Regions from separate parts of the Homo sapiens genome. Here region 2 is linked to region 1. Evidence: promoter capture Hi-C in human tissues and cell types (Jung and others, 2019). All regions are on one chromosome and are shown on one strand. The core of a region is centred on a gene start or on the middle of the fragment in contact, and the rest is flanking DNA. Distances in the headings are between cores, read along the strand shown. Region 1 holds the start of SBDS (SBDS ribosome maturation factor). Region 2 overlaps RABGEF1 (RAB guanine nucleotide exchange factor 1).

Region 1 (6,959 bases), core at 1-2,500:
TTTTCCCTTGTGAGGGCAGGAGAGAAAGTCCTATGTGAATATACTTGAAACTTGGACATGCATTTACATTTAAATACGAGATGGCAACAACATGAACGGCAAGACACAACAAATCCCCCTGATGACCTTTAGTGTAGAGGGCAGTTTTCTTTTTCTTACCCCCCAACCCCCGCCCCTAGATGGAATTTCACTGTTTTTGCCCAGGCTGGAGTGCAATGGCGCGATCTCGGGTCACTGTAACCTCAGCCTCCCGGGTTCAAGTGATTCTCCCGCCTCAGCCTCCTGAGTAACTGGGATTACAGGCATGCGCCACCACACCCGGCTAACTTTGTATTTTTAGTAGAGATGGGGTTTCATGTTGGCCAGGCTGGCCTCGAACTCCTGGCCTCAAGTGAACTGCCCGCATCGGCCTGAGGGAACATTTTCAAAACTCAGAACCGTATTTGCCTTACCATTTGCTCACTGGAGAAAAATGTCATGGGAGGACGTAAGAAACACAAGGGTGGGGTGGGGTGCAGACAGCTGCTGCCACGGAATGCCAGTCCCTAGATGGCAGCAGTGAAGACACTACGCACTTTAAACTGCTAGGGCTACTGAGATCTATGACACCAGATGTACCCACAACTATGACAGTATTCGTAAGACTAGGTTCTCAGCCATCATTATTCTAGGAAAAGGACCACAATTACGAGATTTCTTGGCTGCAGCTTTTATGACACCAACAAAACAAAACCCCAAACCAACAACCCAATCCGAACCAACCAAATAAAGAAGAAACCCTTGGCTTAGGCGCCAAGCTCGGACAGCGACGTCTCATGCTCACAGCAGGAATGTTCCATTTCCTCCCCGGCCAACACCCCAGCCTGGCCCATTCACTCGACTTGGGCAGAGACAGGCCGCCTCGGAGGTGACGGCTCAGGCCCAGGCCCAGGCCCGAGGGAGGGGGCTACTCACACGCCGCTCCGCCAGCCGACGACCTTGTTTTTGTAGCAGGCGATTTCGAAGCGCTTCCCGGCACGCTTCATCCGTACCACGGCCACATTGGTTAGGCGGATCTGGTTGGTGGGGGTGAAGATCGACATCGCGGCTGTTCAAAGACCCAGAAGCCGGCGAACCAGGGCTGACCCGCGCCGTCCAGCCTGAAGGCCACCAGCGCCTCGCGGTAACGACCGATCGGCGCGCGGCACTGACCCAACCACCAGTGCGCGGCGCCGCGACTCACTAGCTTCAGGCAGCCGTCACAGTGTGTCTGGCAGGCTTACTTACTGCGCAGGCGTCAGGTGGAGCAGAAGCCGGGAGGGGAAAAGTGAGCGATGACGCCTGCGTATTGTGGCTTTTTACGCCATCTTTCCACGCCCAAAAAGGGAGGTGCTTTTCCTTGGCGTATTTACTTTCGCCAATGAGCTGAGAGCTCTGACAGGATGCTCGCGGATGTTTAGTGACCGGGTTAAAACACAGCGTTGGCACCACCTCGTTCCGCGGAATTCAAGGGCCAGACCCACTTTATAATATAAATATTTTTTATAATAGAATTATTTTATAATAAATATTTTTATTTACTCACCCTTTTATAATAGAAATATTTTAACATAAAATGTAGACAAAAAAGTGTAATGAACCTTCTATGTACCCATCACCCCGCTATCAACATTTTGCCATCCTTGTTTTATTCTTTTTTCATTTTTTTGTTGCTTTTTTATTTACAGTTTTTTTTTTAAGTCAGTCTCACTCTGTCACCCAGGCTGGAGTGCAGTGGCAGGGTCATGGCCCCACTGCAGCTTCGACCTCCTGGGTTCGAGCGATCTTCCAGCGTTAGCTTCCCAAGTAGCTGGGACTACAGGTGTGAGCGGCCACGCCAAGCTAATTTAATTAAATAAATAATTAAAAAAAATTTTTTGTACAGACGAGGTCTCACTATGTTGCTCAGGCTGGTCTCGAACTCCTGGGCTCAAGCGATCCTCCCGCTTCGGCTTCCCAAGTGCTGGGATTACAGGTTTGAGTCACAGCGCCCGGCCGGTTGGGGGTATTTTAAAGAAACCATCATATGGTTTCAGCATTAAATACTTCAGCCTATAGCCCTTAACAGATACACGCGACGAGATTAACTACAATTCCTTAATATCATCTAATAGCGAGTCCATCCTCGGGTTTCCCAAAAATAATGCCTTTCTACAGTCGGTTTATTTCAGTTAAGATCCAAACAGGCCCACATAGCATTTCCCCCGCTCCCCGCTCCTTTCCTCTTTTAATTTTCCCATGCCAATCATTTCTCTCTGGGCCCGCCTTTTCCCAGTCTGAGCCAATCCAAATGGAGGCGGAAGCGCTCCGCCTTCATCGCCTGGAACTCTGGGAGGTGCTTATTTCTGGGCACGCCCCCTTTCCCCTCTGAGCCAATCGGAGCAGGGCCGAGAGCGCACCGGGCACTGGCTTCCTTTCCCGGAGCTCTGGGCTTTCCTCTGGGCCCACCTCTTCGTCCTCTGAACCAATCAGGACCGGCCTGGCAGTGTCATGGCTGCCCACAGGTCTGCAGGCACTCGGTACGCCGCTAACGCGGCGAGGTAGCTCGGTGCGTCTCGCGGTACCAGTGCGAATCATCGGGCTATCCAGGTCCGAGATCCTAGTCTCCTGTCGGCTCTGAGGAGGATGGGTAAGGGCACTCGGCGGGCAAGGACCCTGGGGCGGCAGGGGAGGTAAACGTTTTACTGAGACCCTCTCCGGGCGGAGTGGCGTCCTCGGTCCCTTTCCTTCGGAGACTGTTGCACTTGACAGCACCGGCTAGTCGCCGCTGAGAGCAAGGAGGACTGATCCCTACTTTTGACCTGGCTTTTGCCTTTTGAGGCTAGGGGGTTAGACAGAAAACTACCCCTCCCACTTTACCTACGTGTATTAGGACTTTTGCACCTGTAAAGCCTAAATTTCAGGCCTCGACTTTTGAAATTGCTCCCAGGTTGAACGTTTGAAGCCAGGTCCCTGCATATCTCTCTTAAAAAAAAAAAAATGAGGTGTAAGGTCAGTTACTTGAGAATCTTTTACAAGTTTAACCGTGAGCCTTTGAAAGTACAGTTAGTAAAAAGAGTGCTTTTACTACTTAAGCTTTTTTTATGGAGCAAGCACAACAAAACAAAATTAATTTCACATGAAGTATTTTTACTTTGTGTTCCTTCTCTTGCTTCTAAATGCTCATTTCGAAGTGAAGATACAATTTTATATTCTGTTTTTTCTTTGAGTTAGTGTTAACAGTGTGATAATTTTATTACGTTACTACATAGTGTGTTATTTTTATTACAGTTGTTCCCCACCCCCCCGCCCCCGAGATGGAGCCTTGCTCTGTCGCCCAGGCTGGAGTGCGGTGGCGCAATCTTGGCTCACTGCAACTTCTCCCTCCCAGGTTCAAACAGTTCTCCTGCCTCAGCCCCCCGAGTAGCTGGGATTACAGGTGCGCGCCACCACGCCCGGCTAATTTTTGTATTTTTAGTAGAGGCGGGGTTTCACCATGTTGGCCAGGCTGGTCTCGAACTCCTGACCTCAGGTGATCTGCCCGCCTCAGCCACCCAAAGTGCTGGAATTACAGGCATGAGCCATCGTGCCCGGCCAACAGTTGATTTTTAAATTAGATTTCTTAGCTGGGTTGTTGAATGTAAGGTTGGTTTTATTTTCTTCTTAAAATTGGGATGGATATCTTTGTATATGTAGCTTTAAATGAAATTGTGTGTGTCATTTTAAATTTAGATCCTTCTGCGGATACATGGGACCTCTTCTCACCTTTAATATCATTATGGATAAACAGGTTTTACATTTATTTGGGCTTTGCTGTTAGCATTAGCCTTTGGATTTGTGTCCAGATTGTCATCAAGACGCAGGTAAGTGGAGTTATTTTTTTTTTAATGGAGTATTTAGGCATCAGATTTTATAGAGGATTTAAATACTAAAAGGAACCTTTAATTACTTTTGTGTTTGGTCTTTAGACATTTTAATGAAATGCCTAAAATAAATTTCTTCTCTAAGTTTTTGGAGACTAAGTTATCTTGGATTAAGTTCTTTACTTTTTCTTTGATAGGTGTGTCTCATTTTTAAGATACAGGAAGATTTTTGTAATGAAAAGTGAACCTTTTATATGAAAAACAAATTTGTTTTATACCTTTAAGGGTCAGTAGTCCTCTCTTTCCATTAATTAAGGATCAGAAAATAAGTTCCTACTATTATTCTACTAAAATACCTTATAGGATAAAAGTATGTAAAGTTTTTTCTTGGAGGGAAAGGAAATCATGAGCCTTAAAAATGTGGGTCCTGCCTATTAAAGGACCTTATTATACCAAGGGGCTAATATTTGAGGAATACAACCAGAAAGATTAAGAGAAAAATACAGTGTGTCAGATTAAGAGAAAAATAAAATGTGTCAGTATCTGTGCTAATTTTCATCCCTGCTGAAGTTGGGAAACGATTTAGACTTGATGGATTTTGTGTAATTATTTGTCTTCAAGGGCAAGAACTTACAGGAAAAATCTGTTCCAAAAGCAGCTCAGGATTTGATGACAAATGGTTATGTCTCCCTTCAAGAGAAAGACATCTTTGTGTCTGGAGTGAAGATTTTTTATGGTTCTCAGACTGGAACAGCGAAGGTAAGAAATTTATATGATGCTTTTCCTTTGGTTTCCTGACATTTTAAGAAAATCCCTTTAGCAGTGAACTTTAGCAGTGAACTGTCCTTTAGCAGTGAACTGAATTGGTCATCTAACCTTCTTTATTCTTTCTCCCAGCCTTTTCCCCTCAAATATTTTTCCATTCTGTGACGGTAGGCAGGTTTCATCTCCTGTGCCCAGTTAGAGCTGATTGGTGGTGTCTGATGGTCAGTGTCTTGAGGGGGCCTTTGTTCTGAAGTTTGCTTCTGCCTCAGCAGGCTAGAGAAAGTTGTGAGTCCATTATCGATGCCCATGGGTATGGAAGTAGGGAATAGGGAAAAAAGGATGGCACTAATAGTTCCAATATGGGCCTGACTTTCACATCACACATCTATGTTTATTTTTTATTTTGTTTTTTGAGACAGAGTCTCACTCTGTCACCCAGGCTGGAGTGCAGTGGCACGATCTCGGCTCACTGCAACCTCCACCTCCACCTCAAGCGATTCTCCTGCCTCAGCCTCCCGAGTAGCTGGGATTATAGGTGCCTGCTACCATGCCTGGCTAATTTTTGTATTTTTAGTAGAGATGGGTGTTTTGCCATGTTGGCTAGGCTGCTCTCAAACTCCTGGGCTCAGGTGATCCGCTTGCCTCGGCCTCCCAAAGTGCTGGGATTACAGGCGTGAGCCACTGCACCTGGCCTCACGTCACACATCTATGTAATGAAACTTGTTTTGATTTCTAATAGTGCTAAAAGTGTTAAAGGTAGACACTAAAGTAAATACAGCTGATATCTAGTTGAAAGATGCTTCCCATTCTCTCTCTTTTTTGCGGGGGAACAGTGTCTGGCTGTAGTGCCATCTAAGCTTCAGTTGCTTATCTGTGAAATGGTAAATTGCAGATGGTAATAGTATGGTTATCTCAGGGTCACTGTGAGGATTTAGTGATATTATCTGGCATGTACTTTGATTTCTCCTTTTTGCTTTTTTTTTTCTTTTTTTAAAGACAGGGTCTCTCTCTGTTGCCCAGGCTGGAGTGCAGTTGTGCCATCTTCGCTCACTGCAACCTCTGCCTCTCGGGCTCAAGGCATCCTCCCACCTCAGCCTCCTGAGTATCTGGGACTATAGGTGCATGCCACCATACCCAGCTAATTTTTGTACTTTTTGTAGAGATGGGGTTTTGCCATGTTGCCCAGGCTGGTCTTAAACTCTTGGGCTCAAGCAATCTGCCCGCCTCGGCCTCCTAAAGTGTTGGGATTACAGTCGTGAGCCACCGTGCCCAGTCCCATTCTCTAATTATATCTAGATGCTACCTGTTTCTGTGTTACAAGGTCACAGCTATTTTAAAAAAATTTATTTTATTTTTGAGATGGTATCTCACTCTGTCCCCCAGCCTGGAGTGCAGTGGTGTGATCTCGGCTCACCACAACCTCTGCCTCCTGGGTTCGAGCAATTCTCCTGCCTCAGCCTCCCTAGTAGCTGGGATTACAGGTGCCTGCCATCACATCTAGTTAATTTTTGTATTTTTAGTAGAGACGAGGTTTCACCATATTGGTCACACTGCTCTCAAACTCCTGACCTCAGATGAGCCACCCGCCTCAGCCTCCTAAAGTGCTGGGATTACAGGCGTGAGGCACCGCTCCCAGCCAAAAAATTTATTTAATTTTTTTGTAGAGACAAGATCTTGCAATCTTGTCCAGGCTGGTCTTGAATTCCTGGCTTCAAGATATTCACCCACCTTGGCCCTCAAAGTGCTGAGATGATAGGCATGAGCCACGAGGCCTAGCCAGGTCACAGCTAGTTAGTGCTTTCTAGGAAAAGATTTTAAGGAAGGCTAGCATGAAAATAAATTAGAGGAAAAATCAAGGTCTGTTACTTTTGTGGACTACTTCAGAGGGTTCTACTGCCCTCTTGTGGAAGTTGCGCAGAATAGTACTTCTTAGGTTTTCACTACTTGAGTGCAGATACTTTGCTTCATTTTACAGTCGAAGGTCAGTTGTTAAGTTAAACCTTAAGCAGTGGAGGTGGGAAACCTGAAAAAAAGCAAAAAGGTGTCTGAGCAGCCAAAGCAAAGTCCTTTTAATGTTACTTATAAAAAACCTTTTTCAGAGCCTCTTTATGCATGTTTTTACCTTTTTAAAAAAAATGATCAAAAAGATCAAACGAATACTTGCAGATGGTAACAAATCCAGGTGTACAGAAAGTTCATAATGAAATGTACTCTCCAGAAACCTTTTAACTATTTCTATTTTTAGTTCCTCTGATGCTTATGCTGTGTTTCGAGATTTATCAACATTACACAAAAGTTATTGGCTCTTTATATTAATTAGTTTATACAAACAGC
Region 2 (6,959 bases), core at 1,888-4,387, 180 kb before region 1:
CACCCAGGCTGGAGTGCAGTGGCGTGATCTTGGCTCACTGCAACCTCCGCCTCCCAGGTTCAAGCAATTCTCCTGCCTCAGTCTCCCAGGTAGCGGGGATTACAGGCGCCCACAACTGCGCCCAGCTAATTTTTGTATTTTTAGTAGAGATGGGGTTTCACCATGTTGGCCAGGCTGGTCTCAAACTCCTGACCTCATGATCCACACGTCCCAGCCTCCCAAAGTGCTGGGATTACAGGCTTGAGGCACCGGGCCCGGTCTGGAGCTGTTCTTTTAACCACTTGATGTTAAAATATTCATTTGAGGATCAGAGGTCTGTGTGCCACACCTACTTGGGGACTATATCCTGGGTGGGGATAGCAGGTCTGGGAAGACTCAGACAGAATGGCTTCATGGTGCACCTGGGGAGGCTGCACCCAGACATCGGCCCTGGAGCTCCTGGGAGTGTATAGGAAGCACGACCGGGGATAGGAGTAGGTAATTTTTGAGGCTGAAATACACAGAAGTTCATGAGTTTGTTTTGTTTACTTTAGCTTCTGTTTTAAATGGTCTGTGATCAAAAGATTTTTACAAATCGACTCGAGTATGCATAGCTTTCCTAATATGACTGTATTAACGTCCTCTTCTTGTAGTGCTGTGCTGTGGCTTTCATTGAGAAGCTAGACGCCCAGTCTTTGAATCTAAGTCAGGAGGATTTTGATCGCTACATGTCTGGCCAGACCTCTCCCAGGAAGCAAGAAGCTGAGAGTTGGTCTCCTGATGCTTGCTTAGGCGTCAAGCAAATGTATAAGAACTTGGATCTCTTGTCTCAGTTGAATGAACGACAAGAAAGGATCATGAATGAAGCCAAGAAACTGGAAAAAGACCTCATAGATTGGACAGATGGAATTGCAAGAGAAGTTCAAGACATCGTTGAGAAATACCCACTGGAAATTAAGCCTCCGAATCAACCGTTAGCAGCTATTGACTCTGAAAACGTTGAAAATGATAAACTTCCTCCACCACTGCAACCTCAAGTTTATGCAGGATGATCACAATTTAGTGGAGAGTATTTATTTGAGCCTAAATTGTAGGTAGCCCTTACTACACTCAACTGATTGGGATCTAGAATGTAACTAAATTGCTTATAAATGTCAGCATTTTTTAAAGGTACAGTATATGGGGATTGTTTCGTTTTTCCTAGCAGGGGAACCTTAGTTAATAATAAAATACTACTTATTTGAGTTACTGATACAGATTCATTTAAGGCTTGTGTGCAAATTTTGTCTCAATCTTTTTTCCCTCCATGATTTTCCTATGTGCTTCCTCTGGCATTCACTGTGGTTTTGGTAAATAATTGCCTTTTAAAGGATTAAACAAATGAATGCTACAAAGTGTATGTTCAAGAAAATTAAATGGTACCACTCTTCCACAGTTTGGAATAATTTTATAATTGTAAAGATAGAAATTATATTGATAAGTAAATATGTAAAATTGTAAATATGTAAAAAAAAGAATGGTGTCTGCTGTGCATGGCATTTTATATGTTAATTTTTTAGTTTAAAATGAAGTATATTGAATGTTTGCCTTTAGCACCATTTTATTTGGTTTGTCCCACTAAAATGACTCGAGAAGTGTTTAGACAAACTCCCCTTAAGATGTGCACTCCATCTTTAAGAACGTGTTAGCCTTAACTTTGAGGTTCTATATAGTCAGAGACTATGACACCACTAAGGTTCAGAATAAAGTTTAGGCCACATAAAATTGCTGTTTAATGTAGTCGATGGAAGACTTTAAACTATGCTTCTAGCTTATTTTTCCCTCATTCATTCAGCAAATCTCTATTGAGTTCTTCAGTGAGAAGGAGCAGGCACTGGGCCTGGAATGGAAGGCGGGAATGAATGGGCCTCTGATGGTGAGAGGTGACGGGGTCCCTCAGCTGTGAGATGCAAGGGGCGCCTTGCAGCCTCCATAATATACATTTGACTTTGCAAACGTCTAGACATGTTTTCTGAACCTTTTTCAGGACATTTCAACCTCGGGACTATTCATATTAGTGGCCTGAGAGGTGTTTGTTGTGGGGCCACCCTGTGCATGGTAGAATGTTCAGCAGCATTCCTGCCATCCATATCCATTAGGTGCCAGTAGCACCCCCGCTAGAGCTGTGAAAAATTCTCTCCAGACATAGTCAGATGTCTCCTGGGGCCATATCACCCCTCCGTTAAGAACCACTGATGTCTTTTACAAACCAGGAGTTATCCTCCTGGTGGTTAATATGGTGTAACCAAAGAATCTTGCACTCAATGCACAGTGTGATGTTAACTAAAACGAGTTAAATATTTAGGAGGCTTGACAGCTACCTGCATTGTAGAACCTTTTCTTATCTCAGTGGAACCTTCTATAACCTAAATATACCATTGATGATTCTTCTTCCATTCAGTGACATCCACAGATTATGCAGCTATACTTGTGAAATCGTGCATGAGGCCCCAGGGCACCGTTCTAGAACAACGTCACTTCACACAGGCAGCTGAGAAAGGTTCTCTTGCTTTTCCAGTATCTTCCTAAGGATGGAGCCCAAAATTGCAGAGCAGTAACTTTGGAATAAAACCAGGGTGGGTATAAAACTTCTTATTCTTAAATTTACATATAAGATCTATTAAGCTTGACACATCTGTGTCATCACGCACTGAAGACAGGAAGCAGTTCACTGAGTCAGCTGGTTCCCAAGCTCGCACAGAAGGTGATAAGTTACTATCAAATGCCAGTGAGAATCTTCTTATAGAATAACCTGGGCCCAAGTGATTTTAGTACAAAACTTGCCCTTCTTTGGTTTAATTTTCTATGTGCTTTTAGGTGTGAATCCAGATATGCGGTCTTAATTCCTTTGGAAATACACAGTTCGTTTAGTTACTGTACACTCTGTTTGTTCAATAAACTGCATATCAACTTCCCACAAAAGCTGACTTTTTTGGGTCTCTTACATATAAAGTAGGTTATTGAGTTGATTTTTTTGGAGGTATCTCATATTGGTCGAATTCTTCTGGTATGGACTCTTGCCTTATATAGAGGCTTCTATTTCTCTTAAGTCAGCATCAATACAACGGCCGGAGTTTCTGTTTTTGCAATAAGAAGATGTTGGTATTTTATGTAGGGTAAATGTGACTGGAATACACCTTTGGAACGGAATTCTTTATCAATAAAGTTTCACAATCCGTCCCTCTTCCAAAAATTGATTTGGTTCTTTCTTAGGAAAATATACATTATTATTAATATTCTCATGCTACAGAGGTTTTCTGGTTAAGCTATACCTAAAAATGAAACATTAGAGACATTTGTCAGTTAAAATTAAGAAGACAAGAATATTTGCTGTCACCACAATCAATCAACCTTGTTCTTGCAGTTCTACCAAGGTACTCAGTCTTCAAACAGACATAAAAGTAGAGAAAAAAGGAGTTAATGTAATCAATATAGAGCTATTATTGTCTGTTGGTGAGGACATGAACTCTGAAGCTGGAAGGCTTGGATTTGGTTTTGAATTTTATTCTGCTACTTATTAGCTCATTGGCCCTGAACAAATCTCTTGTTTCAGATCCCTCAGCTGTGAAATGGGGTTAATAATATTACTGCTTCATGGGGTTGTTGTCTGAACTTAGAACAAATGATAGCTATTATTTGTAGATGGTTATTTTATGTAGAAAACCCAAGAGAAGGCTGGGTGTTGTGGCTCACGCCTGTAATCGCTTTTGGAGGCAAGGCAGGAGGAATGCTTGAGGCCAGGAGTTTGAGAGCAATGTCAGCAACATAGTGAGACCCACATCTCTACAAAAAAAAAAAACACTAGCTGGGCATGGTGGTGTGTACCTGTAGTCCCAGCTACTGGGGAGGCTAAGGTGGGAAGATCACCTAAGCCCAGGAATTTGAGGTGGCAGTGAGCTGTGATCTCACCATTGCATGCTAGCCTGAGTGAGACCCTGTCTTGAAAAACAGAAATGTAAAAAAAGAAAACCCAAGAGAATTTATATTGAAACTATAGAATTTCATCTCTATATTAGTGAAAGATGAAAATTCTAAAATAGCGATAAAAGCTAACTGTACAAAATGATTTTCCTATATACCATTACTAACCACTTAGCAAACATTGTGGAGAAAAAAATCAATTTACAATAGAAACAAATATAAATCACCTACAGAGAACAAGAGCTTTCAGGATCGATACGAAAAACAGAAAATTGAGTGAGAAGCACAAAGGTGTGACTGCAAAGGGCCCTGTGCTTGGACTTTAGGGCTCTGTAGCTGCCATCGTGAAATTCTTCTTTTTTGTTTTTGTTTTTCTTTGGGCTGGGGGGTATAGGGTCTGGCTCCGTAACCCAGGCTGTGGAGTGCAGTGGTGTGAACATGACTTACTGCAGCCTGGACCTCCTGGGCTCAAGCTAGCCTCTCGTCTCAGCCACCTGAGTAGCTGGGACTACATGTGTGTGCCACTGTACCCAGCTAATATTTAAATTTTTTATGGAGACGAATCTCACTATGTTGTCCTGGCTGATCTTTTTTTTTTTTTTTTTTGAGATGGAGCCTTGCTCTGTCACTCAGGCTGGAGTGCAGTCGTGTGATCTTGGCTCACTGCAATCTCCACCTTCTGGGTTCAAGTGATTTTCCTGTCTCAGCCTCCCAAGTAGCTGGGACTACAGGTGCGTGCCACCATGCCCAGCTAATTTTTTGTATTTTTAGTAGAGATGGGGTTTCACTGTGTTAGCCAGGATGGTCTTGATCTCCTGACCTCGTGATCCACCTGCCTCGGCCTCCTGAAGCGCTGGGAATACAGGCGTGAGCCACCGCGCCCAGCTGTCCAGGCTTGTTTTAAACTCTTGGGCTCAAGCAATTCTCCCACCTTGGCTTCCTAATGTGCTGGGATTACCAGCATGAGCCTCCGTGCCCCACCCCACCGAAAAAAGAAATTTATACTTAAGTTTTTGCCCACAGGTTCCTCAGTGTGTTAAAAAGGTTGAATGGGGAACCTGAAACTCCTCCCCCTGCTTTTGGAAGTGTAGGGCACTTCCCTTTCTCCACAGTGTCAGTAGAGGATGGGTGGAGACTGAACTTCCAGCCCTGCCAGGTGAGAATGAAGTGTTTGTTCCTGTCCTCTCCACCCTCTTCTGTGGTGTTGGTGGGGGCTGAGGGGGGAGCCTGGATTTCTACCTCCACCCATGATAATGAGGTCACAACTCACTTTCTTCACCAGTGTGACATTGGCTAAAGAATATTTAAATTAGATTGAGAGCCTCCTAACATAACAACACCCCAAACCTTCAAGACACAATAAAAAAAATCACTGACCATCTGGGGGCAGTGGCTCCTGCCTGTAATCCCAGCACCTTGGGAGGCCCAATGTAGGCGGATCACCTGAGGTCAGGAGTTCGTGACCAACATAGCTGAACGTCATCTCTACTAAAAATACAAAAATTAGCTGGGCGTGGTGTTGGATGCCTGTAATCCCAGCTACTCAGGAGGCTAAGGCAGGAGAATCACTTGAACCCGGGAGGTGGAGGTTGCAGTGAGTCGAGATTGTGCCACTGCACTCCAGTCTGGGAGACAGAGTGAGACTCTGCCAAAAAAAAAAAAAAAAGAAAAAAAGGCCGGGCACAATACCTCACACCTGTAATCCTAGCACTTTGGGAGGCTGAGGCGGGTGGATCACCTGAGGTCAGGAGTTCCAGACCAGCCTGGCGAACATGACAAAACCTCGTCTTTACTAAAAGTACAAAAATTAGCCAGGTGTGGTGGGAGCCTGTAGTCCTAGCTACTCAGGAGGCTGAGGCAGGAGAATAGCTTGAACCCGGGAGGCGAAGGTTGCTGTGAGCCGAGATCACACCACTGCACTCCAGCCTGGGAGACAAGAGTGAGATTGTGTCTCAAAAAAAAAAAATCACTTATCATATCTGAACCAAATGACACATGTGTTGGAATTATCTGACAAAGATTTTAAAGAAGGCATCATAAAAATTCAATAACTAAAGACAAACATGCTTGAAACAAATGAAAAACCCCAGCAAAACCACTGAAGACATGAAGCAAATGGAAATTTTTGAATTTAAAATGACAATAACTGAAAGTTTTTAAATTTCATATTAGAGGGCTGGGCGTGGTGGCTCACACCTGTAATCTCAGCACTTTGGGAGGCTGAGGTGAGTGGATCACCTGAGGTTAGGAGTTCGAGACCAGCCTGGCCAACATGGTGAAACCCTGTCTCTACTAAAAACACAAAATATTAGCCGGGCATGCTGGTGCATGCCTGTAATCCCAGCTACTCAGGAGGCTGAGGCACGAGAATTACTACTTGAACTGGAAGTGGAGGTTGCAGTGAGCCAAGATCATGCCACTGCACTCCAGCCTAGGCGACAAAGCGACACTCCATCTGAAAAAAAAAAAAAAATTCATATTAGAATTGCAGTGATCGAAGAATGGATTAACTGGGATATAGATCAATAGAAATTCCCAATGTGAACAACAGAGCAAAAATTGAACTTTTAAAATGTAGGCTCAGGGACCCGTGGGATGGTTAAAAGAAAAAAGAGATCTATCATTGTCACTGGAGTAACAGAAGGAGAGGAGAAAAATGCATATGGCTAAAAAATATTAAATAGCAACTGAAAATCTCCCCGAAATTTTCATGCCTGTAATCCCAGCAATTTGGGAGGCCGAGGCAGGAGGATCACCTGAGGGCAGGAGTTGGAGACCACCAGCCTGGTCAACATGGTGAAACCCCATCTCTACTAAAAAAATACAAAAATTAGCCAGTTGTGGTGGCATGAGCCTGTAACTCAGCTACTCAGGAGGCTTAGGCAGGAGAATCACTTGAATTCAGGAGGCGGAGGTTGCATTGGGCTGAGATCACGCCATTGTGTTCCAGCCTGGGCAACAAGAATAAAACTCCATCTCAAAACAAACGAAGACAAGTGCTAGCATGTGCCAAAGGGATC

Evidence for each region. Contacts are between HindIII fragments. The study calls those that stand out against the background at their distance.
Region 2: a fragment that was not itself captured here is called in contact with the fragment with the promoter of SBDS in region 1 in 1 of the 25 tissues and cell types used here (IMR-90 fibroblasts).

Annotation. Positions count from the first base shown.
Region 1 is chr7:66,994,336-67,001,294 of GRCh38, forward strand. It overlaps SBDS (SBDS ribosome maturation factor), which reads right to left and starts at 1,251. Exons shown (of 5, transcript NM_016038.4): 1 at 955-1,251; 2 at 1-6. The coding sequence starts at 1,082. TYW1 (tRNA-yW synthesizing protein 1 homolog) reads left to right here and starts at 2,498. Exons shown (of 16, transcript NM_018264.4): 1 at 2,498-2,647; 2 at 3,730-3,860; 3 at 4,482-4,619. The coding sequence starts at 2,644. RefSeq lists an enhancer at 635-684 and a silencer at 2,249-2,368. The HindIII fragment of the contact is 8,933 bases long and covers 1-4,287 here.
Region 2 is chr7:66,808,254-66,815,212 of GRCh38, forward strand. It overlaps RABGEF1 (RAB guanine nucleotide exchange factor 1), which reads left to right. Exons shown (of 9, transcript NM_014504.3): 9 at 633-3,211. The coding sequence ends at 1,031. It also overlaps the pseudogene GTF2IRD1P1. Among named protein-coding and RNA genes, the nearest start is that of RABGEF1, 71 kb to the left of the region's middle. The HindIII fragment of the contact is 5,505 bases long and covers 386-5,890 here.